7 separate regions of the Homo sapiens genome follow, and regions 2, 3, 4, 5, 6 and 7 are each linked to region 1. The links are contacts of gene promoters, found by promoter capture Hi-C in blood cells and fetal thymus (Javierre and others, 2016). All regions are on one chromosome and are shown on one strand. Each heading gives the region's core, a stretch centred on a gene start or on the middle of the fragment in contact. The rest is flanking DNA. Distances are from core to core; before and after follow the strand shown.

Region 1 (4,175 bases), core at 985-3,484:
CACAGTAAAAAGAAAATTTTAAAAATAGCAAAATAAATAATAAAGACAACTATTCAAAAGATCCTGAAAGCTTCAAACACAAAGAATAATGTACTACACAGTGACAGGAATGAAACATTTAATATTTTAAAACAATTTTCCAAACTACAAATAAATTTCTTAGACTTCTTTTTTATTAAATGCAATTCTGGTGTATTTATATAGCTAATTCTTATTTTTTCTGAAATGAGTTATATTCTAATTAAATAAATTTTACTAAAAAAATCCGAATTCAGCTGTTCACTAACCCTTAATAATTTTTAACATAAATGTAGACACAAATGTGCAATGAATTTATGTATTCATTATGGACTACACTTTTAAATCCATTCCTTGCTCAGTGGTTTTCGAATGCTTATTAAATATCATTGACCTTATGCTGAGGAAAAGCTGTCATTCTAGGAAATTCACCACTTCTACCACTAGGTGGAGAAAAAACACAAGTAGTATCTGTAATCAAAGCTAGTACAAGGCCCCAGGTACTTTACCTAGAATTTCCACCAGGTGTCAACCAAGAGGTAGGGAAAAGATAAGACTGTTTTTCCCACTTAAATATGCAAATTTATAATTTTATGCATAGCGATCTAAACTCTGAAATAAATGGCCTGCTCATTAATTGTCTAGTTTGCATATTTATACTCTTTATATATTGCTGTTGAGTCCAAGATATTGCCTTGTCAACTAAAATCCAACCCCCAAAAGCTTAGTTTCTTTTGAAATAAAACAGCAAGACCAATAAGTTTAGTTTATTGTGACTCATAGGCTCAACCTATCCATATACACTACGCAAAAGAATCTAAAACGTTTAGACACGGACAGCCAAAAATCTTCCAAGGTATTTTTGGTCATACATATATATATAGAGAGAGCACCAGATTCATATTTTTTCTTTCTACATTTCTCTTGTAAGGCAGTTCTGTTGATTGCCAGTAATCTAGATGAGTTTATGCTGTTATGCTCTGAATCCCAGTGTGATGTGACGAAAGCACTGCTATTTTTTACCAAACATTCACAATAAAAAGAGAAATGTACCTATATTTAAGATGTATCATGAGAATTACTACGTTAAATGGTCCAAGGCTCTCGGCCGAAAATTAAAGCTTCACACAGTTAAATCCCTATTTATATACCAAATCATGCTTTTTAAAAACAATTTTATGCGCTTCACTAATTTCTAACAAAGATTTTCCGATTCTGTTGCAAACAATATGTCAGCTAAACCACTATGTCATATGCCTTTTATAAGGTAGTACTTTTTTAGGCCGAACTCTATTCTTATTCCTCTGGACACAGGAGTTGTAATCATGTCTTACTCTGCAAATCTAGCCGTAGGTGGTGTCTTAAAAGGACTTTTTCTTCCTTCGAGGAAGTGATCAAGCTTCCCCCAGCCCCCACCCGTGTCATCCTGGAAACAACTTGGTTGTTTTTCGGTGCTAATTAAGCAATGTAGGAGAAAGAAGTTGAGGAGACAGCAAAGCCTATTGATTACATTGTACTTGCTTCTCTACCTCGCTCTTCAAAGGATTAAGGTTCCTTTGACCTCGACTGAGTTCATTTCCAACCTGCCTACAAAGTACTGGTTTAAAAAAAAAAAATCCAAGCAAAGTATGCTCTTGTCTATGAACAATATTTCTTGTCCGGTTTTATTACGTTTTCTTTGGAAATTCGTTAGATTATGCTCAACAATCGGCCGCTTGCCCAACCGGTTTCTCCCTTCCCCCATCTCTCTTCACACATCACTTTTTCCTCCTCCCATCCAGGCAGTTGGTAAAACGCTGCAGTGCCGGTAACGCACGCTTCGGGCTGGTCGCTGCAGTTTATCCTAACTTGGCTTTGCAAACTCCCCACCCAGCCCTTGTACCCTCGCACCCCACTCTGCCATTATCTTTCTAGTAGAGTGCGCTCGGTAACGGGCTCCAGATAGCACGTCGAGGGTATACGGTAGCCTGCCTACCAATAGGAGCCCACAATGAAGAGAAGTCAGGTTCAGCCGGCCAGCAGCTCCAGTATCTCCTTCCCCTAGCTCTACACCTACTGTACCCGGGAGCGAGCGGGCAAGGGAGCGAGCGCGGCGCGGCGCGGCGCGGGAGGGGGCGCGCAGGGAGGGCGGACAGCAGCCGCGGCCTGCGCCTGCGCACTGGGGTTGTTTTTCACAAAGCTGCTCTTAAAGTGAGCTGGCAGCTTTTAGCCGCCCGTCTTTGTAAGGAGACCACTGAGACGAGCGGGAGCGCGGAGCAGCAGCCTCTGCTGCCCTGACTTTTTAAGAAATCTCAATGAACTATTTGTAGAGAATCACTGATCCGGCCTGCAAGCATTTTGCACGGCAAAAATATCGATCAGTGTTAAGTGAAGATCACATTTTATATGCGATCTTGACTTTTTTGTCTTACATTATATTTTTATAGATTTTGTTATAAACATGGTGCTGGGAAAGGTGAAGAGTTTGACAATAAGCTTTGACTGTCTTAATGACAGCAATGTCCCTGTGTATTCTAGTGGGGATACCGTCTCAGGAAGGGTAAATTTAGAAGTTACTGGGGAAATCAGAGTAAAATCTCTTAAAATTCATGCAAGAGGACATGCGAAAGTACGCTGGACTGAATCTAGAAACGCCGGCTCCAATACTGCCTATACACAGAATTACACTGAAGAAGTAGAGTATTTCAACCATAAAGACATCTTAATTGGGCACGAAAGAGGTAAGTTTTTGTTATTCATAAGTCATTGGACTCATTTTCTTTGGAAACGTACCTTTTCAGTTTTCTGAATTAACGTGATTCTACTCCTAGCATAACTAAGCAGTTTGAGAAAGGTTAGCAAAGTTGGAAGGTTTGGATTCTCCTTGACGTTCATCGTGTGTTAAGCCGTAATGCATGCAGGCATCTGCAAAGTGACTGCAAACTACACTTATTCAGCTACCTCTGTACCCGGCTCGGTCTGTGCCACACGCACTTGTAGTCCATTTGCACCTTACTTATAAATTCTGTTTGAATCCAATTCAGTCGTTTTACTAATATATTTTCAAATGAATTGGTAAAAGCTGCAGTCTTAGATTTTTGCCCTTTTACTTGCAACCTAAGATGTAAAAACTGAACTTCGATCAAGAAATGTAATAACATTTTTAAGAGACTTAATGGGTGTGTTTCATTTTTAATATTGGAATGCAAAAGACTTTAAATAATTGATGACTGTTCTTTCATAAAAGATTTCTGTGGCTTATTTTGACATATGGTATCAACACCCCACGTGTTTTTTCTCTATTCTTTACCATTCCTTTAAAAATTTACACCCAGCATTCCTTATTTTAAAGGAATGACTATCTGTCATTATGATAGGTATCGAGTCAGGTTTAGAAGCCATTTAGGATCAGTAATTTTCTTTTCCGAGCATCATGTCTAACTTTGGAACGTGCATTCAATGAAACCCATGCCAGTCAAATGGAATTGAAAAGTATAGGGCACACTGGATTTGATTTTTGGTTAGAAGAGAGAGATAAAGGGTTGTCAAAAGGAGAAGGAGTCCTGAGATTTCCAATCTATTGTTTAAATGGTTACATTGTGGAAATATAGGAGACTCTAGGCTTGTTTTTCTAAGTTTCCACCCTTTGTTAGAAGCGGTTCAATCCTGTTTCGGACCAGTTCTGGGGGGTGGTGAGGAGGGGCGCTTGTTCTGCTCTCAGCAGATTGGTTACACGCGTCAGGTGGTGGCGATGACTTAATTCCTAGCCCAAGAAGAATATAATGTTAAAACTGGTTATGTAATTTTTGTGCCTCTCCTTTTTAATGCAGTATTTAGTTCAGATGTTGGCGATTTTTCAGAAAAAAAATTAGAGACATATTTTACCTTATTTTTTATATTAAAAACGTACATCCTGGAGAAGTGCTGATGACTAAGGCAAGTGAGAAATGAAGGATGCTTTGAGGGACAGTATTAATGCATTATTTTTGAAACTATTAAGGTGAACTCAGTTCTTTAGCAGGATTTTCGTAGTTAGATACAGGTACTTTGCATCCTGAAATAACTAATTAATCTCTCCAAGTGTTAACACTGATAGGAGATGCAAATGCCTAATGACAGCCTTGGTATTTGTTGAAAAGCAGATAGATGACTTTGTGTTTGTACCTTTCTGAATATTG
Region 2 (4,175 bases), core at 1,200-3,699, 9.5 Mb before region 1:
CAATTGGAATTTGAAATGAAACACAGTGTCAGTTACATTAACTCCCCAAACAATAAAATATTCAGGTATAAAACTAATTAAATATGTATAAGATCCACATGAGGAAAGGTAAAAAAAAAGTAATGAAATAAATTAAAGAACAGCTAAATAAATGGAGAGATAGTCCATATTCATGGCTAGAAATATTCAAACTATCCAGATGACATTCCTTCCCAACGTGATACATAGATTCAGTGCAAGCTCAATCAAAATCCCAATAAGATTTTTTTGGATATCAAGAAACTCATTCAAAGCCATAAAAAATGATGAGTTCATGTCCTTTGTAGGGGCATGGATGAAGCTGGAAACCATCATTCTCAGCAAACTATCGCAAGGACAAAAAAACAAACACCGCATGTTCTCACTCACTCATAGGTGGGAATTGAGCAATGAGAACACATGGACACAGGAAGGGGAACATCACATACCGGGGCCTGTTGTGGGGTGGGGGGGAGGGGGGAGGGATAGCATTAGGAGATATACCTAATGTTAAATGAGGAGTTAATGGGTGCAGCACACCAACATGGCACATGTGTGCATATGTAACAAACCTGCACGTTGTGCACATGTACCCTAAAACTTAAAGTATAATAAATAAATAAATAAAAAAGAAAAAAGAAACTCATTCCAAAGATTACACAGAGAGGCAAAAGACCCAGAATAGCTAACACAATATTAAAGGAAAAGAATAAAGTTGGAAGACTGATGCTACCCTATTTCAGGACTTACTATAAAGCTTCAGCAGTCAAGAGAGTGTGGTATTGGTGAAAGAATAGACAAATAGATCAATGGAAGACAATAGAAAGCACAGGATAGCCCACCCAAATATATTTAACCTTTTGTTTCTTTGACAAAGAAGCAAAGTCAATACAATGGAGAGAAGACAGCTTTTTCAACAAATGGTGCTGAAACAATTAGACATTGACATGATAAAAAAATAATAATCCAGACACAAACTTTGCATGATTCACAAAACTTAACTCAAAATAGATTATAGACCTAAACAGAAAATGATAAAATGCCTAAAAGGTAACATATCTTAAAAATCTAGTTTATCTTAGGTTTAGATTTTAAATACAACATCAAAGGAATCATCAATAAAATAATTAATATGTTGGACTTCATTAAAATTAAAACCCTCTGTTCTGTGAAAGAAACTGTCAAGAGAATGAAAAGACAAGCCACAAACTGAGAGAAAATATTTTCAAAAAGAGATGTGATAAAGAACTGTTATCCACAATATAGAAAGAACTCTTAAAACTCAAGAGTAAGAAAATGAACCTGATTAAAAACCTGAGCAAAAGTTCTGAACAGACACCTTACCATAGAAGATAAACATGTGTAAATTGCTCAACATCATATAATATCAGGGAATTGCAAATTAAAACAACAGTAAGATACAACTACTACACATCTGATATAATGGTCAAAATCTAAACCAATACAACAGCAAATGTTGGCAAGGATATGAAACAACAAGGACTCTCATTCATTGCTGATGGGAATGCAAAATGGTACAGCCACCTTGGAAGTCACTTTGGCAGTGTCTTTCAAAACTAGACATATTCTTACCATATAATCCAACAATCTTATTTATTTCTACTTACCCAACTGGGTTGAAAGCTTTACATCTACACAGAAAACTGTACACAGATGTTTACAGCAGCCTTATTCATAATTGCCCAAACTTGAAAGCAATAAAGATGTCCTTCAGTAAGTGAGTGGATAAACTTTGATATATCCATATAATGAATTTTATTTAGTGCTAAAATAAAATGGACTTTCAAGCCATGAAAAAAAATTTGTTTTTCAAGCCATGAAAATAATGGAGCATATTATTAAGTTAAAGAATCCAATCAGAAAAAGCTACATACTCTATGATTCCAACTATATGACACTTGAAAAGGCAACACTGTGGAGACAGTAAAAACATTAGGGAAGTCAGAGCCTGGGGTGACCGGGAGTGAGAAAGAAGCATGAATAATCAGATTACAGAGGATGTTTAGGGCAGTGACACTAATTTGTATTATACTATAATGGTGAATATATGTTCAGTATATATTTGGCAAAACCCATAAAATGTGCAACACCAAGAATGAATCCTAATATGACCTATGTACTGTAGGTGATAATGATATGTACATGTAGTTTCATTGAATGTAAAAAAAGAAATGTACTGCTCTGATGAGGAATGTTGATAGGGAGACTGAGTATGGGGAGAAGGTAGAGTTATATGGGAACTCTCTATTTTCTGTTCAATTTTGCCATAAACCTAAATGTTTTCTAAAAAAAAAAAAGTCTATTAAAAATGTCATGGGTCATTAAAAACTCCACCATGAGACTGCAAGTATCTATTCATTTCTTGCCAGCTAGATTTGAGAGTACAGCCAGCAATGAAAACATGAATTTACATTAAGTCAAAGGATAAAGTATCATTTTAAAACCAGCTGCCATTACTCACATTATTTATTTATAGGCTATTGTATAATTGTAGAATTGTGCTGAATAAAGACAAATATATTCTCTTTATTGAAGAACTTACAATCCAAAGATCAAATGAAAATTTAGAAACAATCTTATTTGCTCAGGAGCATCAAACTAAGCATTCTAATAGAAGAAGTTAATTCCAAAAGACTTCTTTATAGTCTTTTGGTGCTCAGGAACATCAAACTAAGCATTCTAATAGAAGTTAATTCCAAAAGACTTTTTATCCAATATTTATAGTTCTTGCACCTATTTACATATTGAGAAAAAACCATGCTGTCCTCACTTTTGTCTAAGTATTGGCCTGTATGGCTTCTTTTTAATTGGCAAATTATAATGGCTATATATTTAACGAATCTAACAATATTAAACAAATGGCATTCAATTACACTCCAAACACTAAATTGCTTTAATTTGGGAAGAAGAATTCCTGGAGTCTCGCTGAACAGTTATCAGTCATTCAGAATTGCTCGCCTTAATATAAAAAGTTCTGTACTTAAAAAATTCAGAAACAGCAGCATTATACAATTGGAGAGTTCACTTATTTTTCTTCTGGACATTTAAATTTGTCTTATGTGTTCCTATAACTAGTTCTTGATTGCTTTCGTTTCGCTCTTTTTTTTTTTTTTTTTCTTTTCTTTTTTTGTTTGTTTGTTTGTTTTTTCCTGTTTGGGCTAGGTAAGTAGTTTCCCCTAATGTAATTTAAAGCTTAATATAGATTATACTCACTTTCCTCTTGAAGATTTTCTTGTGGCTTTCTCATTACAGAAGACTGTTCCACACTCTGGAGCCATAGAATATTATGAGTACACCGAAACTTTTGGACCAGCACTCTCCCTTACCACTTTCCCTTCTAACAGTACTGAGCCACTTCAAAGTTGCCCCAAAGCACCAGAGTTTTATTACTCTCTGGAGTTGCGCATACTCCTTTTTCCACCTGCAATGTTCTATCCTCCCTCTGCTTGGCTTACTTCCTTGTCAGCTTTGAAAACAGGAGTCTGTGTGTCCCCTTCACCCGGAAACTCATCTTCCGGGCTTCAAAAGGCTTAAACACCCCATCTGCTTCAACCCAGGAGCTTACTCAGATACCATATATATTTTAAATGATGTTTCTGATTCATGTTGCCATACTGTAAATTATTATTTTTAAAAGATGCCCCCTTTGAGTGAGTAGGATTTGTGTCTGACTAGATGCTAAGTTTTATTCATCTTTGTGTTCCCATCTCCGCACACATTGCCTGCCCCATAACCATTGCTTAAGAAATAATGAGTTTAATGAAACGATGCATATTACTCTATCCCTGACAGAGAGTGATGTTTTACCTATAATCTAAAATATAGTTGTCTACTGTTTAAAAATCAAAGTTTATCCTTGAGAATTTAGCATCCTAACCATGCATCCCTCTCCCACCCGACCCCTGCCCTCAGCCCCGGATCCCTTTTAACTTAAATAAGAAGCTGTTTTATTCTGGCAGTTTTTGCCAGAAGAAAAGTGAGTCTAACAGAAGTCAATCTAACAGAAATGCATTAATGCAGGCTGGATTTGCCTAGACATCAATAAACTCGAAAGGCTCCCTGTGGGCCACTTGTAGTGTCAATAAACGTTCGTAATTACTTGCTCCTTGGAGCATTTTTATACCCGACCCCGTTCG
Region 3 (4,175 bases), core at 1,146-3,645, 9.1 Mb after region 1:
AATAACCCATTTTTAATTTTCTCAACCTGATCAGCATACAAAAATGTCATAAAAGTTGCCATCTTAAAAATAAAACCCTCCAACTCCACATTCCCCTCCAAATAGGGTGCCATTTCTCTGCACATAAAAAATGTCTTTCAAAAATTGTCTATAGTTGCTGTCTAGACTTCCTTCCCTCCCATATTCTCTTCACTCCGATCCCATCGCCTTTCACTTTCAGTACTCCATGGAGTCCCCATTTGACAAAGTGACCAGTAATCTCCACATTTTCAAGTCCAAAAGGCAATTCTCAGTCCTCATCTTATCTCTTTTCACACTTTCTCACTCCCTTCTTCACTTGGCTTTGAACAGAGTGTAACATTGGCCACTCTTTCTTCATCTGTTTTGCTTCACCTGCCTTCTCTTCTGTACCACTAAACTTTGGTGTGCTCAGGACTCTAATCTCTGTTCTACCTACAGTCATCACCTAAGCTATCTCAACTAGAGCCACAGTTTTAATACTATTTATTCATTGATTACTCCTCAGCTTCTTATCATATATCCAACTGTCCACTTCACATCCCTGGATGTTTGACAGTTCAAACTTAACACATCCAAACCAGAACTCTTCATTTCCTCCTTTGAAATTTGCTCCTCTCCTCGTATTTCCCACTTTGGAACTCACCCAACTCACAACTCACAACTCTACAACTCACCCAAGTGCTGAGGTCAAAAATCATAGTGCTGTAATTAACTCCTCTCTCACATCCTACAGTCCTGAGCAAATTCTGTTCATTCTACCACCAAACAGTGTATCTGACCCAACCACTTTTTACTGTCTCCACTGAGGGTCCAAGCTATCACCATCTCTCATCTGAACTATTGCAATACCTTCCCAAGTGGCCTCCCAGATTCATGTCTTTTTCTCCTCTCAACAGCCAGAGTAACCCCATAAAAATATAAATCTTATTTTGCTACCTACTCCCAAGCTCAAAACTTTACAATGGCTTTAAATCACCAGAAGAGTAGAAAAAGGCTTTACCATGGCCTACAGGCTCCACATGTTCCTGTGTAACTCTCAGACCCCATCTAATGCCACACTACTCCTCAGTCACTATGCTCCCCTTCTTCACTGATCTTTCAGTTCTTAGAAAGCACTAGCCCATTCTACATCTGCACAGAGATGTCACCTTAAACTACCCTATCCAGAGTAGCCACCCCCATCCCCAAGTCACTATCACCCATCCAGCTATATTTTCTCTATAGCTCTACAGTATGTAAAAATCATCTATTTAATTATTTAATTTACATCTATCTAACTGGTCTGTCCTCTCACATTTAGAATATAAACTGTATCAGAGCAGAAACCTTCACCCTCTTAATTTAACCGCCATATTCCCGGTACCTACAACAGCGTCTGGCACATAGAAGGCATTTTTAAACATCCTTGCTGAGTGAACCAATATCCCAGAAACCTCTCACAGCTAGTTCATCTTACAGGAGAAACAGTATTAAAGAGTTAATTAAATGGCCAGGCGCGGTGGCTCACGCCTGTAATCCCAGCACATTGGGAGGCCGAGGCGGGCGGATCACTCGAGGTCAGGAGATCGACACCAGCCTGGCCAACATGGTGAAACCCCCTCTCTACTGAAAATACAAACATCAGCCAGGCGTGATGGTGGAAGCCTGTAATCCCAGCTACTCAGGAGGCTGAGGTGGGACAATCGCTTGAACCCGGGAGGCGGAGGTTGTAGTGAGCCAAGATCGCACCACTGCACAACAGCCTAGAAGACAGAGTGAGACCCTGTCTCAGAAAAAAATAAAAATAAAAATAAATAAATCTATAAGTAAATGACTCGCCAGTCAAAATAAACGGCAACTTTAGGGTTAAAGGCCCAATCTGGCTCCAAAGCTTGGGGTTTTAGTTACTACACTACATTGCTTCACTATATTTTACAATTTACTAGCTGCTTATAAGTATGAATTAAGGCTCAGAAGTCTAATTTTCCAGACTACTCGGAGGACTCTCGCCCCACTCCACTCCACAAAGATTCAGCTCAGCGACTCCTTCCTACTCTGACCTAGCCCCGCGTCCCGCTCTCAGTGGCTTGGGCAAGAGCGCCTGCGCGGTGAGCGGGTCCCATAAAACGCATTCTGGGATTGGTAGTCCATGTTCCTCCGGTCTCCAGCATTCAAAAGAAAAAGGGGGAAAAAAAACCATGCAAATTAGATATCTCTGAATTTCTTGCAAATTAAATAAGACGCAGATTCTGGCTCAGGAAAGTGATGCAAACGCGTCGTTTTCAAAGGAGAGACCCCAGCCTCGGGTCAGGCGCGGCGCAGACAGCGGCGCGGGGTCCTTGGCTGGGCGGGGCTTGCTCGCGGTGGCTTGTGGCTCCTTCCTGCGGTGCTTCTCTCTTTCGCTCAGGCCCGTGGCGCCGACAGGATGGGTGAGCTGTTGTGGCCGGTTTAAGGGCGCTGCAAGCGGGACTTGGGGTCTTGGGGACGGGCGGGCGGATGCGAATAGAGTAGGGCGGGGGATGCCATGGAGAGGCTCCATGGGGGAGGGCCGGGGAAGCGCCGCTCCAGGAGGCACGTGGTCCGGCGCGGAAGGGGCCCATGAGGCGTGGAGGCCGCCGAGGTCGGGGTACCGAGGGACGCAGGGAGGCCAGCGCTTCCTCCCGGGCATTCGAGCGGGGCCTCGTCCTTCGGGAGAACACATTCTCCGGAGCCCTCTTCGAACGTTTATTAGTCGGTTCAGGGCAACTTGAAGGCCAAATGTTTGGCCCACAGGCCAATAAATAGTACGAGAGCCAATCGGCTTAAGGGTTTATTCCAGGTGAGGCGAGTGTCTTAGAAGATGGGAAACACGTAGATGGCGTGTTTTTACGGAAGAACTAAAATATTTAATTTTTAGGCAAGTGTCGTGGACTTCGTACTGCTAGGAAGCTCCGTAGTCACCGACGAGACCAGAAGTGGCATGATAAACAGTATAAGAAAGCTCATTTGGGCACAGCCCTAAAGGCCAACCCTTTTGGAGGTGCTTCTCATGCAAAAGGAATCGTGCTGGAAAAAGTGTAAGTCCATTGCTCCCGTCAAGTTTTAGTTTATTATAGGAATTCGAGACATGAACTTACGAATTCTTGTTTTGAAAGTAATTGCAGGTTTTTGTGTAGTAGTATTCATTTGGGCATTGTGGGGTAAAATTGCAAAGCGTTTGTTCTATTTAAAAGTTGGTAAAATTAGTTTTTGGGAATTAGGTAGTTAAGGTTTTAATTTAACGTTGGCCTGGAAGGAATTGGAGAAGATACTAGCAATGATGAAGTAAAGGACACAAACACCTTTACTGTGGGAGTTGTTATAAGTAAATGGCACGTGTCAGCTATTGAACTTTATCGACTTGATAAAACTAAGGTGAAGAGAAGTGACTTGCATCAGAATTAATTGAGGTCATACACCTAAGATTGAGACATGAAACTGCCAGTATTTGACTGGTTTTGACTTTTTAAAATAATAATTTCATATAGTTCTATCATATTTGATGGTAGAGCCATTTTAACCCAGACTTTTTTTTTTTTTTTTTTTTTTTTTGAGACAGTCTAGCTCTGTCACCCAGGCTGGTGTGCAGTAGCGCAAGACTCCCTGCAACCTTAGCCTCCCAGGTTCAAGCATTTCTCCTGCCTCAGCCTCCCAGGTAGCTGGGATTACAGGCGCCCACTACCACACCAGCTAATATTTTGTATTTTCAGTAGTGATGGGGTTTCACCATGTTGACCAGGCTAGTCTCAAACTCCTGACCTCAGGTGATAATGCCTGCTTCGGCCTCCGAAAGTGCTGGAATTACAGGCGTGAGCCACTGTGTCCGGCCCAGACTTTCTAATTCTTACCTCAGATACCTTTTTTCTTTTTTCTTTTTTTTTTTTTGAGATAGGGTCCCTTGTCACACAGGCTGGCCATCTTGACGTTCTAGGCATAGATCCTCCCACGTCAGCCTCGCAAGTAGTTGGGACTACAGGCCCACGCTGCCACTCCAGTCTACTTTTATAACTGTAAAAGGTCTAGAAATTTCCCCCATTGTGCTAATGAAATTAAGACTGGCAGAAAACTAGGTTGACATCACAGGACTTCAGCTCAGCCATTTGAGGTTAGATTGAAAAGATAGAAACAGTTTCTCATTAGTTCTCTAGTTAATATGA
Region 4 (4,175 bases), core at 1,073-3,572, 8.3 Mb after region 1:
TCAGCCAATGCCTTAGAAAAAGGCACAACTCACTTTCATCAGGGCTGGCAGCTTCCGCAATAACAAGGAGCAAATTGTCCAGGGCTATACAATGCATTAACTCCCTCCTACTTGTATCAAAAGGATACAGTACCTTTCAATTATTTTAAAGACAGCCATCTTTTTCCTAAGAAACAAGGTATAGCAAATAAGCCATTGATTTTACACTCAAAAGACCCAGGTTGGAATCAAAACTATGCTTCATAGCTGAGTGTCCTTGATCATGCCATTAATGCATTAAAACATTCACTGATTACTTCCTATGTACCAGGATTTGATATCCCAAAGATCAGTAAGACACATTCGCAACTCTCTACTGAAATAGAGACACCCAAACAGAATTATAATATAAGTTTGTAAAATGCAGAGGTAGGAAGGGAGCTCCTCTGAAAAGCAGCACTTACCCTGGCCTGACATTTTAGGGAAGGCTTCCTTGAGTTACATCTAATATTATACGAATCTTTAAAGAGAAATGGTCAGGTGAAAACAACTTAGGGGTAGAGGAAGAAAGATAAGGAAGGGCATTCCAAATAGAAGAGTCTGCATGAGTAAAAACTTGGAGGCAAGAAATAGCATGATACATGGAAGTGATAAATAATTCAGTGTTTCAGACTGCAAATCAAAAATTACAGGTTCATGGTCAAATGCGGTGGCTCATGCCTGTAATCCCAGCACCTTCATGCCTGTAATCCCAGCACTTTGGGAGGCTGAGGCGGGTGGATCACGAGGTCAGGAGTTCGAGACCAGTCTGGCCAACATGGTGAAACCCCGTCTGTACTAAAAATACAAAAAATTTGCTGGGCATGGTGGCATGCACCTGTAATCCCAGCTACTCAGGAGGCTGAGAAGAGAGAATTGCTGGAACCCAGGAGGCAGAGGTTGTAGTGAGTAGAGATTGTGCCACTGCACTCCAGCCTGGGAAACGGAGCAAGACTCCATCTCAAAAAAAAAAAAAAAAAAATTACAGATTCAAACACCCAATCAAGTCAGTCATTCATTCAAACAAAACCTACTGAGTACTTCTATGCCTCAGACAAATGCTTTAGAATGTGGCATAAGACAACAAAACAGATAAAAATGCCTGCCTTCATGGATTTTACATTTTAATAGGGGAACACAATTAAAAATACATGTAACAAATATGTAATACATATATAGAATAATGATAAGCGCTGAAGTAAAAAGAGGAGATAAAACAGGGTGGAGGAGATAGGGGTAGGGGCTATGGAAGTTGCAAAGCTTCAATTTAAATAGGGAGGTTGGGATATGCTTTACTGCAAAGGTGACATTTGAACAACATGTAAAAGCTATGAAGGAATAGCTGTATGGATCCAAAAGCATTCTAGAAAGAAGCAGCAGTCAGTGCAAAGGCCCTGTGGTAGAAGTAGGCCTAGTGTACTTAAGAAACAGGGTGGTAAGTATGGCTGGAACAAAGGGAGAGAGAATACAAAGACATGTAGTCAGAGAGGTAATGGGAGACCAGATCATGTAGAGCAGAGGTGTCCAATCTTTTGACTTCCTTAGGCCACACTGGAGGAAGAATTGTCTTGGGCCACACATAAAATACACTAACACTAATGATACCTAAAGGGCTCAAAAAAAAAAAAATCTCATAATGTTTTAAGAAAGTTTACAAATTTGTGGTGGGCCGCATTCAAAGCCATCATAGGCCACAGGCAGCCTGTGAGCTGTAAGTTGGACAAGACTGATGTAGACTATTGTAGGCCAACGTAAGGCTGTTAGCTTCTACTATGAATCAAATGATTCACGAAAGGTTTTTAAGCAAAAAAGTAATGTTTTATTCTTCTGTATATTATTTTGAAATAATTCTGAATTTACAGAAGGGTTACAAAGATAATAGAAAGTTCTCATATACCCCTCACCCAATTTCTTCTAATATTAACATCTTATACTACCACGGTGCATTTATCAAAACCAGGAAACCAACACTGATACATTTCTATCAACTAAACCATAGACTTTATTTGGATTTCACCAGTTTTTCCATTAATAACCTCTTTCTGTTTCAGGATCCAATCTAGCATAACATATTGCATTTAGAATCTTACATGTAAATACACAATTTTTTATTTATATTTTAAAAGTATCACTCTGGCTGACATATGAGAATAGACTGTAGGGAGGCAAGGACTGAAAAAAGCAGAGAGAACAGAACACAATTACTATAATCCAGGCAAGAAATGATAGTGGGTAATAACAAAAATCTGAGCAAGAGATGATCAGTATACTAATAGCAGAAATAGTAGAAAACTGTTGAATTCTAGATATATTTCATAGAAAAAGCCAACAGATTTGTTGGAATACAAGAGAAAGGAAGGAGTCAAGGATGACTCCAAAGATTTAACTGAGCAACTGGCTGTATAAAGTTGCCATCAATTCAGATGAGAAAGAATGGGAAAGGTTTGGGAGGAAAGGAGTTCGGTCTGGGACATCTGAGTTCAAGATATCTTTTAAATATACCAATGAAGATGCAGAGGTAGAAAAAGAGGAATTGGAACATGGAGCATAGAAAACTCTTTAGAGGATTTTTGTTGCAGAGAAGAGCAAACAAATGGGGTTGAAAATGGAGAAAGGTTAAGAGAAACATTTCTTAAGGTAAAAGAAATAAGACATACATTAAATAGAAGTGTCTTTTTTGGTGAAACTTCTTTTTTTAAAAAATGTTAATGTGTATATTTGAGGTTTACAAGTTGACATTATAGGATACACACAGATAGTAAAATGGTTATTTTAGTCAAGGAGATTAACACCTATCATCTATCTTATTTTTTGTGTGTGACAAGGGCAGCTGAAACTCTACTTATTTAACAAAAATCCCTAACAGAATAAAACTGTATTAACTTTGGTCCTCAAGTACATTTCAGTCTGAATTGAAAAGCCATGTGGGAAGGGAATAAAAACAAGGGGGGAGAAAAAAAGGACAAACACTGGAACATGAAAAACCTCTACCTGAGGTTAGGGAGGCTAGCTGAGGATAAGAGGAAAAAAGCAGAACAATTGTCTTTCAATATATGTGAATAACAGTGAATGAAAAAAGGTAGGTAATGTAAAAGGTAATGTAAATCAACCCTATCATTAACACTAGCAACAAAGTAAAAAGAGAAAATGGGGAGAAAGTGGTCTGGTGATACAAATGCAATACCAACTTAATACTAAAACCTTTTATAGCAGTCCTCTCCTTATCCAAGGGTGTATATCCCAAGGCCCCGTGAGGAGGCTGAATCCAACTGCCTTCAATCTGAGCATGCTTCTGTTCACATTTTCTAACCACAAATTTAATTCCTTTTTTATCTTAACTAAGCTTTTATAATGCACTATGGCTATAAGTTTGGCAGTTTGAGGTGTGACAGTAAAACTAGCATAAATTTCTTTTTGCTTATTCACAATTTTACAGATAGATTTGTTCTTACCATAGTTCTTAACAACATCAACATAGGATTTCTTTTCTTCCTTATTAAGTGGAGAACTTTCCTTTTTTTGCTTAAAAGAGGCACTTTACAGCTACTCTTTGGCATAACCAAATTGCCAGCGTCGTTACTCTTGTGCTTTGAAGCAATAATTAAGTAAAATAAGTATTCCTAGAACACACGCACTGTGATACCACCTCCATCAATCTGATAACCAAGCAACTAAAAGGCAGGAAGCTTATACAGCAGGGATACGCTAAACAAGGAGATGATTCATGGCCCCGGGCTGAATGGGATAGGATGGAATAAGATTTCATCACAACTCAGAAAGGCATGCTATTTAAAATGTATGCATTATTTCTGGAATTTTTTTTTTTTTTTTTGAGATGGAGTCTCGCTCTGTTGCCCACGCAGGAGTACAGTGGCACAATCTCGGCTCACTGCAGCCTCCACCTCCCGGGTTCAATTGATTCTCCTGCCTCAGCCTCCTGACTAGCTGGGACTACAGGCACATGCCACCACGCCTGGCTAATTTTTGTATATTAGTAGAGATGGGGTTTCACCATGTTGGCCAGGCTGGTCTCAAACTCCTGACCTCAAGTGATCTGCCCGCCTTGGTCTCCCAAAGTGCTGGAATTACAGGCATGAGCCACCGCACCCGGCTGGAATTTTCTACTTAATATTTTCAGACTGTGGTTGATCATGGGT
Region 5 (4,175 bases), core at 634-3,133, 7.7 Mb before region 1:
GGTAGCAATGTAACATGTACACATGGACATAGAGTGTGGAGTAAGAGACACTGGAGACTCAGAAGGATGGGAAGGTGGGAGGGGAGTGAGGGATGAAAAGTGGCTTAATAGGTGCGATGTACATTATTCAGAAGATGGTCACACTAAAAGCCCCAGACTTCACCATTATCCAAAATATCCATGTAACAAAACTGCACTTGTGCCCTTAAATTTATACAAATAAAAAAAGTTTTAGATGTACATACTTCTGATAGAAAGTAGATACAAAATCACCCATTATTTCATAATCAAAGAGTAATAAAATTACAATGTATGTCTTCTCAATATGTTTTTATATATGCATTTTTAACTTAATTTGTTTTAAAATTTTTACCAAAAAAGTCATATTATATAAATTTTAGCCTATTTTTCCCTTAGTAGTACATTATAATATTTTCACATATCAAAAAATATTATTCTATAATATGATTTTAAAGGAATCATAGTAATAATGGTGTTTTTAAGTAATTGAACAATATTCATCTTATGAGTAACTCCTTAGAGATAAAGCAACAGAAAGAATCCATAACAGCAAAAAGTGTAGTGAGCTTTTTATTTGTTTTTACATATCAAAGTAATTTTTGCCAAATGCCTACTGTTTGTCTTTTATGTACTGGGAAAACAAAGATAAGTTTTTAGAGCAGTTATAAGATAGGTAAGTTAGTCAAATATTATGTGATGGGTACTAAGACAGAGATAGTCCTACGCGGTACAGGAACACAGAGAAGAGGCCTCTAAGTAAGAATGAGAGTCACCTGTAAAGTGACACTAACTAAACTATTGAAGGACAAGGGGATTGGGAATTGCAGAACAAACAGCATAAGTAAAAGGACTGCCTAGAAACAGTCAATCATTAATTCACAAACTGGCTTGATCATAAAAATCAGTAGAGACTGCCAGGCACAGTGGCTCACGCCTGTAATCCTTGCACTTTGGGAGGCCGAGGCGGGTGGATCACCTGAGGTCAGGAGTTTGATACCAGCCTGGCCAACATGATGAAACTCTGTCTCTACTAAAAATACAAAAAATTAGCCGGGCGTGGTGGCGGGCACTTGTAATCCCAGCTACTCAGGAGGCTGAGACAGGAGAATCACTTGAACCCAGGAGGTGGAGGTTGCAGTGAGCTGAGATCACGCCCCTGCACTCCAGCCTGGGCAACAAGAGCAAAACTCTGTCTCAAAAAAAAAAAAAAAAATCAGTAGAGACATAAGCCCCACTCCTGGAGATTCCAATTTAATATGTTTAGGGTCAGGCCAAGAATCTGCATGTTTAATATGTCCCCAGAAATTCTTACATTCAGTCAAGGTTAAAAAACAATTCTAGTCCCTCCAACTGGAAACCTGCTTGTTTTACAATATAGCAGTAAGGAAGTAGCCATCCCTGAAGCTTGGAAAGTGGCCAAAGACAGAATGTGTGGGTTAAGCCTTGAAGTTTATCCTGAAAGATAAAGGACTGAATCTGAGTTTGCAGAGCAGATTAGCATTTTAGAAGGATCACTCTGTAAGAAACGGAGTATGATGTGTAAGGAAACCTTTTGAGGAGGCTAATGTAGCAATTTAGGTGAGAAGTCATTAAGACCTTAATTTAAAAAGTGGTTATGAGTTTAGGAAAGAGGAGAACAAGAGATACCAAGGAATTAAAAGCCACAGGGATTAGGGATTGATTGAGTATAAGTGAGAGTGACCTAGGAAGACTCCCAGGGAAGTGGATTGGGTGACTGGATAAGAGATATGCCATTTATGAAAATGTGGCATTCAAGTAAAGCGCAGGTTTGAAATACATAAGTTCACTTTTAGATATACTGAATTTTATTGGAAATTCAATCGTAGGTTCCATCGCAAACTCAAAACGAAGATTTGGCAGGAGGAAGTTTGTAATATAACAGTGATCGAAGTTGAACCCATGAGGAAGATAACACTTACTGTTTAAGCAGAAAAAAAGGGAACCTACAATGGAGACTAAAAAGAATTATCTTTTTTCTTTTTAAGGAAAGAATAATGCCACAGAAAACAAAGGAGAAGGACTCCAGAAGGAGAACTGCTACCGATAAATCAAACAAAATAAGGACAAAGCAAAGTTCCCTGAACTGTGCCTTATGGAATTCAATGGTGCAGGTATCAGGAGCATCTCCTCTGCACATGTTTCTGGTGGGCTTGGCCAATCAAATGTTTCCTTCCTAGGAGCTAAATCTTAAGTGGTGACACAAGGAGGAAAGGTAGTTGAACCTTAGTAAACATACATGATTATGCATGTCCACGGTTTCATTTCAGTGGTCCTGTACTTTCTGCCCTCAGGAAGCTTGACTGTTTAGTATTTTCTTCTGTTCTGCATTATACCAGTATATTTCCAATGAATATCATTTTTTCCATAAGTTGTTCTCAATTTGTTTCTTTGGCTTATAATTAGAGACCCAAAACTGCCAAGGTAATTTTACTTTTGCTTTCATTTTCAATAAGACAAACCACTGTTCTGTTTATTTTCTGAAGTAAAACAGGAAAGAGGGCGATGATTGATATAATAAAGTCATTGAGTACACAGAAGAGGATGGAATCCAATCTACAGGTTGAGAAATGAGCCTCGAGTTAGATGGGCACCTTTTCCAACAGGAAGGAGAAGTAAAAATGCCAATAAATAAGCGAATAAGTAAGAGGGAGAGGAAGGTGCCGTTTTCACTTTCTGCCCTTGCCTTTTCACAATGAAAAGGACAGAATCATCATTTGCTGAGTGTAAGAAGAGTTGGTGGTTTTGACAGTAAGGGAAGTAAATGTTTGGAATACCCACTGTCAGTTGATCAGAAGCACCTTCACCATAACTGAGGACTCAGCCTTGGTCAGAAAGCAACAACATACAGTGACATCAATTGGTATGGCTGTGTGATTTTTCTCCAAGAACTCTCAGCTGCTCAGTTCCAGAGTCAGAGAAACAGGATGGCTGGATTAAGAGTTGAAAGTAATATTGAAAGCATAATTTAAGTAGTGGACACCAGTGTGTGGAGCTGAACAGGGAAAATGGGAAGACAGAAGGAGACTAATTGATTAGGAGAAAATGGAGGGCTCAAAGCATATGGGGTCATGAGGTCAAAGGGCAGGCATAGTTCATATAAGGACCAGAAAGTTACCAAAAACAAATGGTGAGGAAAAGCAGATGTCTTGTCTAAACATGAAGCCTGTATCTGAATCTCCCTATGGATGGAGGGTTCACGTTTATCTACCTTCAGACTGCTCTACTCGGCTATCAGTCAGTCTTTCTTAGGATTCCTAATTTGTTTTTCTGACTTTCGCCCACAAGCTGGATGACCACTTGGTGGAGCTCCTGCAAAGAGAATGTCAGCCCATTGGTTAACAAGATACCCTGAAAAACGAGATTCCATAAAATTATGCAGTTCACTGTAGCCTAGTCCAGTAAATGGTGGACTGATTGAGAAATACTTTTTTAAAAAAATGTTGTGAGCTACCCTTTCCCTATTGCTTCCAACAGAATGACAGCTGATTCTGGTACTTGGAGCAACCAAAATTTCGGAAGGTTCTTTGATCTTAATGCAGCAATGAGTGTTCCCTCTACTGCTAGCCTAAGCCTAATCTAGTCCTTCATCAGTTGTAGAAATATAATATCTTTAAGAAAGGATAGGAAAAAGAGTCCATAATTAAGACACTGTTCCTTTAGGCCTAGCCTATTAATAATACCTTTAATCTACTTTACCTCGCGGGTTTAAAAATAATTCTGCCTGTTGCTTAGTGCCACCCATACTGCTGATGATGAACAATGATCTGTTGCATAAATTGCCACCTACCTTTTATTCTGTAGCAGCCATTCATTACAACTCTAAGGCCAGTAATTACCAGTGATGAAAGTGGCATTATCTGCCGTGACTTTCTGTTTGGTTTTACTTTGAAAGTGCCTTAGCTGGTTACCTTACTTGGATAGTGTAGACCGTTCGAGTGCCATAGACAACTTATTCTCCTATCCCTGGCATAGTCCCCCAAACAGTGCCTTCATTACTGCAAGGAGAGAGTGTGGCTTAATTACACTATATTCATCTCTATGACAAGCCAGACAACTCAAACCATAAGGTTTCATTACATGGTTCTTATAGTTTCATCACGGTTTATGACCAAGAGCACATACTTTCTAATGCA
Region 6 (4,175 bases), core at 1,212-3,711, 7.5 Mb before region 1:
ATTCTGGATATGTGGTTCCCAGCCTATCCCCACCTAAGGATACCCATTTAGTACTTTACCTAGTAAAGCATATCACAATTAAGGACCCACAAAATGCTGTCTTAGATTCCGGAAAAGTAATATTCTTTCCAAAGAATATGAAATTTTAAAAATGAGAAATTAAATAGTAACAAAAACCTCCTGGTTAATGTTAATTATGTGGAATTTTTCGTTAGTCATGTGTTGAGATTATCAACTGTTTGGCTATTGTTTTAGTACCACTAAGTAGAGATAAAGCTAGTTTATTCAAATAAAGTGACACTGCAAATTTAACTATGTTGATAACAAATCATCAAAAAGGTATCTTTGGATTACCTACACGCTTTTTAAAAAATGAACTGGCAAGATTGTTGCAATTTTCCACCTACTGTGTACTTCTGCAAAGCAATAAAGTATGATTTTACTCGAAATCTAAATCTCCAATGTTCAATATTTTATTACAAATTGGGCAAGATCTTTTTTCGAATAGCATGTTTGATGGCACAATACGACAGAATAGCATATTCAATGGCACAATTAGTAGTAAAAAAACAAAAAACCTGCCTGACGTGCTTCCGGAAAACGTAAAATAGACTGTATATACAGTAATTCTTTTCATAAGACAATGACAAAATGTCAGAGTTGTAATTGAGGACTTTATTAACTGAACTATACTTCTGATTACAACATTCTGTGTATGTTAATAGTTTCTCTGGAGAAATTACGGGCACAGGAAGTTCCTCTCATTAAGGATATTAACATAAAGCTTAATATGAAAAATTAGCACTCAGTTCAGAAATGACGACTTCAGAAATGACTTCAGAAATGACGATTTGTATGATCTTTTCATTCCTCACAACCCAGTATTAAAACTATCTAATATTGCAAAGGATGGTAGTGTTCCACTTCGTTTTGCTATTCAATTATTGCTGATAGATACATGTTTTCAAAAAGGCCATTGGCATCTGTTTGCTTTCTCCTACTTCTCCAAGTGAATACACCCTTCAATATGTAGTAAATACATATGTGGAGTTATGTTTTGAGATTTTTTTGAAGGATTTGAACCAAACTGTTTAAACAGCTGGTAGCCTAAAACTGGAATATTTCCCACAAGGGAAAAATAATTATTTGGGGAATGTATGTTACCACAAACTCATCTGACTTGGAAAGTGCGCCTTTACACCAAATCAAATAACTGAACAATGGGATTAGAAACTTTTAATTATTATTAACCTCGGCCACCGGGCGCCGTGGCTCACGCCTGTAATTCCAGCACTTTGGAAGGCAGTGGCAGGTGGATCGCTCGAGCTCAGGAGTTCAACACCAACCTAGCAACATGACAAAACCCCGCCTCTACAAACATAAATAAAAAACAAAAATCATTAACCTTGAGTGAGTCAAGTTCATCTGCAGACTGAAAAAAATAAAGTGTAACAGAATTTTGATTTAAAAAACGCTTTCAAAAAAGCATTTCAAAATGCTCTAAGTATGTTTCAAAAATACACTTAAAAATATGTTTCCAACACACTGAAGGGATTTAACTAAGATCCACAATTACAGTTACGATACAAACTGTAAGCTAAAAGGCAGCAACTTAAGCTGAGACAGTTACTAACATCCCTCGAGCAGCGTTTTTTGTTGCGATTCGGCGCCGCACCCGTCACCCCGCCCTCCGGGGAGGAACCTAGAAAGGAAGGGTGGTACATTTCTAAACCAGGCCACCCACACATGAATCAAGCGGCATCACAGGCTGTCAACAACCGGGTCTCTATTTTCTCTCCTCCTCCGGCGCCCCGCCCGTGCGGGACATCAGCTCCCAGGATGCGTCAATCGCAGATCGCCCAAGCGTAAGAGGTGGCGAGAGGCCACCACGGTTGCCCAACAGTTGCGTTCCCAGGCTGCCTGGTGTGACGCAGCAGCCCCCGCCCGGACCCTGAGGCCTGGCGCTCCGACTGAGCCGAGGCCTGTGCTACCCGACACTCCTTGCGACCCGGCCCCTTAGGCTTATTCAGCGCGGCCCTTCCCGGCTTCCCGAGTCCCATCGCAGTCTCTCCCCACCCCCGTTCCTCCCCGGTTCCTTGTCAGTGTCCGCCGCGATGTCCTTGCGCAACCATCCCAAGTGACATTAGCGCCCATACCCGCACGGAGCGAGCCTGAAGCTCCCACTTCCCGGAATTCAACGCCGGGCCGCTAAGGGCGGGCACCCAAGCGAGGATCAGCGGACTAAGGCCGCGACCAGAGTCCAGCGGTCTCCGCGCAGTCAGAGTCCGACAGCCTCTGCGCATCCGCCGTGCGCACTCCCATTCGTGCGCGTGCGCGCACTCGCCCCCCCCGCCCCGCCCCAGCACCAATCGCTTTTTTCCTACGCCCACGACCCTTCAACGTAGTCCCTCCCGCCTCCCGCGCGCGAGCAGAAAGGCTTCGGCGTGCGCGCGCCCGCCCGCCTCGCGCTCTGTCGGGAAGGGGAGTGAGCAGAGGCGCTTACGTCGCGCGGGAGGCGGAGGCGACGGCGACCTCGGTGGCGGCGGCGGCTACGACGGAGACGGTTGCGCTCGCTTGCTTTCTCGGCGTCATGGCGGCTGCCGGGGGCAGATAAGCGGAGGGAGCGGGAGCGCGCGCGCGACGGCGGCGGCGGCGGCGGCGACGACTGGTTACTTATAGCTCTTGCTGCCCTCGCCCTTGGTGCTTCAATAATGAATTGTTAGCTCCACTCCGCAGGGGATCGCGCGTTGGTGCTGCGGACCGGGGCTTCCCCTTCCCCTCCGCGTCTGTCCCCTTCCCCCTCCCCCGCACGGACTCTTGCTTACCCCGAGACGCCGGAGCCCTAGGACTGGGCGGCGGAGATCCCGGGCCTGGGCGCGGGGGAGGCCGTCCACCCGAGTCGGCTCCCTCCGCCCCGCCAAGCCCGCCGGTAAGAAAGGGGGCGGCGGGCGGGTCAGGATGTGGCGGAGAGGACAGGAACCGGCCGGGCGGAGGGCGGGCGCGGCGCGGTGCCCAGGCGGCGGCCCAGCGGCCGGGTGAAGGCCGGGTGGCTCTGTGAGTGCCGGTGGCGGTGTACGGGCCTGGCGCGCAGGGGGCGTGTGAGCGGCGAGTACAGGCCGGGGCCGCAGAACGCATCCTTGCGCCGGCCCGGCGGCCCTGCCCCGGCCTCTTCGGCTTGGTGCCGACCGGGCCGCGAGAGGAGACCCGCGAATGGCTAGCACTTAGCCGGTGCGTGGGTCCTGCCGCGACCCGGGCTCCCAGCACGTGGGGAGCGGCGGGAGGGGGAGGGGGCGGCGGCTCGGGCGAGCCTGGGAGGGCGCGGGGCGGGTCTGCGGGAAGTTTGAGGCGGGAAGAGGGACTCCTGGACCGGGATGGAGGCCCTGGGAGAGGGGGGCAGGTCCGCGAGGGAGGCTGATTGGAGCGCGCTGGATGGATGAGTGAGGATGGTTTCCAAACCTCTTTCGAGTGCCGCTTTAAAAACTTAGCAGGAGCAAAGCAACTGCTAAAAGACAGAGGATTGAAGAGGTTTAATAACTTAGGGTAGTCATTGTGGAGACGCTTGAGAGGACACAGCGCTGTGTGCGCTTGGAGCTTCAGAACTCAGGGTTGTGAAAAGGGTCTCAGAGGACTTATTCGGATAAGGGAGATGGAGGGGAAAGGAAGTTAAAATGTACAGAGAAAGCCATTTTGAGGGACGAAAGGAAGGTGAAAAGGAAAGAACGAAAAGGGGAGTGAACTTTTTAAAGGAAGAAACGGGAAAGGCAGTTTGTTAACATACTTAGATTTTTTAAGACTTAATTGTTCAGTAAGGCACTTTGACTAGGGTTGAGATTAATATTTAACATTAGGAATAAATGTTGAGTAGAACGGTTACTTTTTAGATAACCTGTTCTTGCAGAGTCTACTGGACAGTAGTCTAGAGAATTAACATCCTGATCCAGATGCAGACTTTGCTATCATTGAGTTGGTAACAATCTGTTTCCCTCCCTCTCTTGTGGAATGGAAATAATCGTAGGAGTGAATTCTCTTTGCTGAGGTCGGAGGACAGCTCTGCTCTCAGTTGGCTGTCTCGGTACTTTCTGGCTGGGGAAGGATCTGACGTCTCCTTCCCCCGCTTCTTCCTCTCCCTCCCCTGCCAGAGATCTCCTTTGTTTATTCGTGGATGGCTTGTAGGT
Region 7 (4,175 bases), core at 1-2,500, 7.4 Mb before region 1:
CTCGGGAGGCCTTTCCCGTTGCGCCACGCCGCCCTTCCGCCCCGGCGAGCGCCTTCGAGACCTGGGGCTATTTGGGAACAAAGCCCTAGGCCCCGGGGCTGGCTCCCCTCGCGCGCTCCCGTCCTACCTGCGTGGAGCAGCCCGAGGCTGAACAGCAGCAGCAGCAGCAGCTCCAGCGGCGGGGGGCAGAGCCCGGGGCTGCGGCGCTGCTCAACCTCGGCGGCGGCAGCGGCGGCGCTGGAAGGTGCTGCTCTCAAGCCCATGCCCGTCCATGCAGGTCTCGTGGGCTCCGGCGAGGGCGGCGGCGCGGGCGCCGTGGCGGGTCTGGGCCCGTGGCTGCGGCATGGGCCGGGGGGCGCGCTTCGCTTCCTCTTCTTCCTTCTTCAGGCCCGTGTAGCAGATGGGGCGCCACCACCGCCGCAGCAAGCAGCGCGCAGCCGGCGCAGCCAGTCCGCGGCGGCAGCAGCGGGGCGCAGGGGCATCGTGGCGGCCGGAGGCGGCAGGCAGGGAAAGGGGCGGAAGAGAAGACACAAAGACCGTGAGCGACTGCTGAGACGAGTCCCGAGCGCGCCGGCACCCCGGCCCCAGCCAGCGTGGGCTCGGCGGGCGTGGACCTCCAAGAGGCTGGCCCAGCCCTAGCGACCACCCACCGGCGGCCCGGATATCTCTGCGCGGCAGCCCCCGCGGTCGATCAATCTCAGTCCCGCACTGCCGTCCCGCCCCGCCCTGTGCCCGCCAATCCACGACGCCATAATCCCCCGCCGTGTCCCTCCCTTCCTCCCCATTGGTTGTGACCGCACGTCAGCCCGACTCAGCCTGCCAATCGCAGGACCCAGAGGGCCCTCTCCCCCGCCCGCTCAGTGTAATTCGAGTTCCCTGTCCATCGACTCCAAGTCCTCTCTCCTGCGCCGCATGCTGCCTCGCGCTCCCTTTCCTTCCCCCTCTACCCCCTTCCGCGATTTACTGTTTCCTCGCGCCCAACAGAAATGGGCGACCGCAAGTCTTACTCTCGCCGGCGTTACAAAGGTACCGGCCTTTGACCTCTCCTTGAATTAATGTGATCCGATTCATCTTCCCTCCAAGTTTTTTTTTTAATTTAATTACCCCTCCCTGCCCTGGCCCTGCCAGCTTCAGCTCCACCTCCTTGGAGGAAGCAGGCGCTTTTACAGAGCGCCGCGCGGCAGGTCCCCTTTCAGCCAATCACATCTGCGGAACCGCGTTCCGAGTCGTTTGAGGGTGTCTGGTAAAGCAAGCTCGGGGCGGTGTTGGAAATCTGAATGTCACCCGCGGTCCGGAGCAGATAGGATGGGCTGGGAAGGTACCCGCGAACTGCCGCCGGAATTCGCTGGCAGCTGTGCGAGGCTCAGGTGTTCTAGTTTGACATTTCCCTTCCTGAAAGCGGCAAGGAGAGGTCTAAGAGTGGGCAAACTTCAACGTTCGGTTACAGTGTAATTAATGAGAGTGGTGGGTTTTTATGCAGTGTAATTATGCCACGATTTGTTGTTGCTCAGTGGCTTTTTCACAAATTTCTACAGATTATTTAAATTTTCCACAAATTTCTACGGATTAATTCAATGGCAGCTCACTTTCTCCTTTTATGATCGGATGGGTCCGAAAGTGAGGAAAAAGACAATTGTCTACAAAGAAAGAGGCTGCCAAGTGGAGACAGAAAAGCAGTTATGAGACTGATGATAGATTCCAATTTGTTATCGGTAGGTGTGAAGTGGTATCTAATCTCAAGAATGACCTCAAGGCTGAGAGACACTTGATACCGCCCTCGCCTTTGCCTTTCCCCAAACAGCACAGGGTTGCCATTTAAAATCCACTAACATCCAAATCGTAGTTGGCAACTGTACCCGCTATGTTACTCAGAATCTCTAATTAGGAATTTCTTATCAACCACGGACATGCTGATATTCCACACATGTTTAAATGAGCTAATCAATGGACTAGGATAATTGAGGGGCAAACCTTCAGTCTCACCAGCTCACTTATTAGACACATTTTGAATTGCCCAAACCACTAGGTCCCTAATGAAGGATGCCTATCTGTTTTTACTGTAACTTTTCATTACTTACTTGTTACATACTATGATGACTTAAGGGGTAAACACACCTTTCACTATCCACAATATAATCCAAGCCTGTGTATATCCATAATACGCTTAATAATAGCTTCACAGTTGCCTGGAGAAATGACTTTTGGGGAGGAAGTTATATGACATTTTTAGATAATGCTGCGGACTAAGTATTATTAGAGCAAAAATTTACTATCTTGCAATTACTTCATATAATTAGATACAGTTCATGACATACTAAGAAGCATCTTAAAAAAGTAATCAAACATAATACTGATTTTCAAAGTATTTGGCTAACAAAGACTACATTTTTTTCTCTTAACCCAAGATTTAATTCGACCCCTATAAAAGCAGCATCTCACTTTATTGATCATACTTCAAAGCATATACTCAATAGTTAAGGATCAATAATTTCTGTTTGGTTTGGGTCTTTCCACTCGTGACTTTCTATGATTTTTTACTCCCCTCCCCCTATATCCTGTTCCATAAGTACACGGGTGCTCTAGATTTTCCTATCAATAGAGGGCGTCCTCGAGTCATTGCAAATCCTGGTGTCGTTAAACGGAACTGTTCTTCAGAGGAAAAACTTCATCTCTATAAGGTGCTTTATTGCTCCTCTGTTGTAAAATTTGACAAGCTCGAGATTTATAAGCCTAACAATTCACTTTTTATTGCTGCATAAGTGTTCAGCCGCTAGAGGAAAATGCTAATTTTCACAAGTAAACCGCAAGGTGGTTCCTATTTTCAAGACATAGGTCAGTTGACACACTCGCGGGTAAATTCGTACTGTTCACAAGATCAGGAATTGGCTTGGAAAGCAAGAGCGTAGTGAATAGTCGCTTATACCGCAGCCACTCCTCAAGCCCGTGAGCTGCAAGTTACAAACGACTTTATATTGTACAAAGAAAAATCGGGGAGGGAGCTAGAACACAAACAAAAAAATCGGTGACTTATAAAAGTTTTATGTTTTAATCAGAAAAAAAATCATGAAGTGGCTGATGACTTGTGTAATTCACACATCCACCCTGTTTCTTGCCACTGGTACTCTTTCTCCCTTTCTCTTTGTTTTCAGAAAGGAAGGAGGAGACCTGAACAGTACATCCGGAGAATCCAGCAAAGCATACTACGGCATGAACGTGCAAGTGGACAGAATTAAAACACATGCCAGAAACACTAATGGATTCTAAACAAGATGCAGTTTCATTTCCTGAGCCTATACGTGATGTTTTTAACTGTTCTCCAGTTAATATGTCTCCATTTCCAGAAATCTAACAGGAGAATCTCTGACTGCTTAACAGATCACCTAAGCTTGCGATTTGTGCAATCCTTTCTAGAGTAAGGGCTCCCCGGCTGCTCCCCGGCCACTGTGTACCCAAAGCAGCGGCTGAAATAGCCCGGAGTCCAACAGCTCAGCGTCAAGCAGCTCGTGGTTTGTACTTACATCATTTTTTTTTTCAGAGCAAGAGTGAAAGTTTATTAAAAAGCGTTAGAACAGTAAGGAAAGGAAAGGAGAGAAAATAAGGAAAGTACAACTTGGAAGAGGGCCAAGCGGGCGACTTGAGAAATCAAGTGCCTGTACTTACATCATTCTTAACCCTTTCGCTCCTGGAGGGGGCTCAGCGGGATCAGGGGGCCCCTGAACTTCGGAACACGCAGGACCTGGGTGTGAGAGAAGAGTCCCAAAGCTTGGCGTGAGCAATGCACTCGCGGAGGGAGAGAGCCCGGGGCTTGCGGGGGGCTCATCACCCGCTCGTAGACAACGGGCCCCCGCAATCCCTGCGGGCTCCGCCGCTGCTCTCACCGCTCAAAACGGCAGGTGCAAAAAGCATTTGGGAGCCGCTTGCCAGCGCGCGGAGGTAATGCGCTTCCTGTCCATTTATCTCAGGAAACCAGTGCAGCCTTCCCTTCGAAACAAAATTAACCTCTCATTAGCCAGCCACTCGCTCCCAAGAAGGCCTTAAAAGCTTTACCAGCTCGCTAATGTATTTAGGCTTTTCTTCCAGGCAAACGCAGCCGCCGGTCTTGACTGCCATCGCCCAAGGGGTTCCTCTGGGCTCTCCCGCGAGCCAACAGCCGACCTCTCTCCAGCCTAGTCTGG

Evidence for each region. The method cuts DNA at HindIII sites, captures the fragments that hold promoters and counts their contacts. A CHiCAGO score of 5 or more calls a contact.
Region 2: a fragment that was not itself captured here is called in contact with the fragment with the promoter of ARRDC3 in region 1 in 1 of 17 cell types (activated CD4 T cells); the score reaches 5.3 in activated CD4 T cells.
Region 3: a contact is called between the fragment with the promoter of RPS23 here and the fragment with the promoter of ARRDC3 in region 1, in 1 of 17 cell types (total B cells). The highest score is 5.7, in total B cells.
Region 4: a fragment that was not itself captured here is called in contact with the fragment with the promoter of ARRDC3 in region 1 in 1 of 17 cell types (total B cells); the score reaches 7.5 in total B cells.
Region 5: a contact is called between a fragment that was not itself captured here and the fragment with the promoter of ARRDC3 in region 1, in 1 of 17 cell types (non-activated CD4 T cells). The highest score is 16.8, in non-activated CD4 T cells.
Region 6: a contact is called between the fragment with the promoter of CHD1 here and the fragment with the promoter of ARRDC3 in region 1, in 10 of 17 cell types (fetal thymus, naive CD8 T cells, total B cells and 7 more). The highest score is 29.9, in fetal thymus.
Region 7: a contact is called between the fragment with the promoter of RGMB-AS1 here and the fragment with the promoter of ARRDC3 in region 1, in 3 of 17 cell types (non-activated CD4 T cells, activated CD4 T cells and naive CD8 T cells). The highest score is 13.4, in non-activated CD4 T cells.

The regions. Positions count from the first base shown.
Region 1 is chr5:91,381,376-91,385,550 of GRCh38, reverse strand. ARRDC3 (arrestin domain containing 3) reads left to right here and starts at 2,234. Exons shown (of 8, transcript NM_020801.4): 1 at 2,234-2,738. The coding sequence starts at 2,459. The region is part of intron 1 of ARRDC3-AS1 (ARRDC3 antisense RNA 1); the gene reads right to left. RefSeq lists enhancers at 1,468-1,767, 1,647-2,164 and a silencer at 2,018-2,327. The HindIII fragment of the contact is 1,076 bases long and covers 1,420-2,495 here.
Region 2 is chr5:100,904,747-100,908,921 of GRCh38, reverse strand. It overlaps LOC107986437 (a long non-coding RNA gene), which reads right to left. Exons shown (of 2, transcript XR_001742825.3): 1 at 3,253-4,175. Among named protein-coding and RNA genes, the nearest start is that of ST8SIA4, 3.6 kb to the right of the region's middle. The HindIII fragment of the contact is 1,569 bases long and covers 1,665-3,233 here.
Region 3 is chr5:82,276,574-82,280,748 of GRCh38, reverse strand. RPS23 (ribosomal protein S23) reads left to right here and starts at 2,395. Exons shown (of 4, transcript NM_001025.5): 1 at 2,395-2,429; 2 at 2,897-3,056. The coding sequence starts at 2,426. It also overlaps the pseudogene ATP6AP1L. RefSeq lists an enhancer at 2,075-2,404. The HindIII fragment of the contact is 8,285 bases long and covers 1,894-4,175 here.
Region 4 is chr5:83,080,201-83,084,375 of GRCh38, reverse strand. All of the region lies in intron 1 of XRCC4 (X-ray repair cross complementing 4), which reads right to left. Among named protein-coding and RNA genes, the nearest start is that of XRCC4, 4.7 kb to the right of the region's middle. The HindIII fragment of the contact is 2,083 bases long and covers 1,281-3,363 here.
Region 5 is chr5:99,031,833-99,036,007 of GRCh38, reverse strand. No RefSeq gene overlaps it. Among named protein-coding and RNA genes, the nearest start is that of CHD1, 100 kb to the right of the region's middle. RefSeq lists an enhancer at 2,525-2,584. The HindIII fragment of the contact is 912 bases long and covers 1,428-2,339 here.
Region 6 is chr5:98,927,293-98,931,467 of GRCh38, reverse strand. It overlaps CHD1 (chromodomain helicase DNA binding protein 1), which reads left to right and starts at 2,461. Exons shown (of 36, transcript NM_001270.4): 1 at 2,461-2,929. CHD1-DT (CHD1 divergent transcript) reads right to left here and starts at 2,906. Exons shown (of 4, transcript NR_151718.1): 1 at 2,826-2,906. It overlaps LOC100289230 (a long non-coding RNA gene), which reads right to left and starts at 2,334. Exons shown (of 1, transcript NR_036530.1): 1 at 459-2,334. RefSeq lists enhancers at 1,728-2,057, 1,546-2,444 and silencers at 2,218-2,427, 2,688-3,317. The HindIII fragment of the contact is 7,543 bases long and covers 787-4,175 here.
Region 7 is chr5:98,770,159-98,774,333 of GRCh38, reverse strand. It overlaps RGMB-AS1 (RGMB antisense RNA 1), which reads left to right and starts at 1,250. Exons shown (of 2, transcript NR_033932.1): 1 at 1,250-1,712; 2 at 3,150-4,175. It overlaps RGMB (repulsive guidance molecule BMP co-receptor b), which reads right to left and starts at 671. Exons shown (of 3, transcript NM_001366508.1): 1 at 128-671. The coding sequence starts at 263. RefSeq lists enhancers at 1-309, 1,045-1,094, 3,473-3,973 and a silencer at 195-824. The HindIII fragment of the contact is 10,132 bases long and covers 1-3,387 here.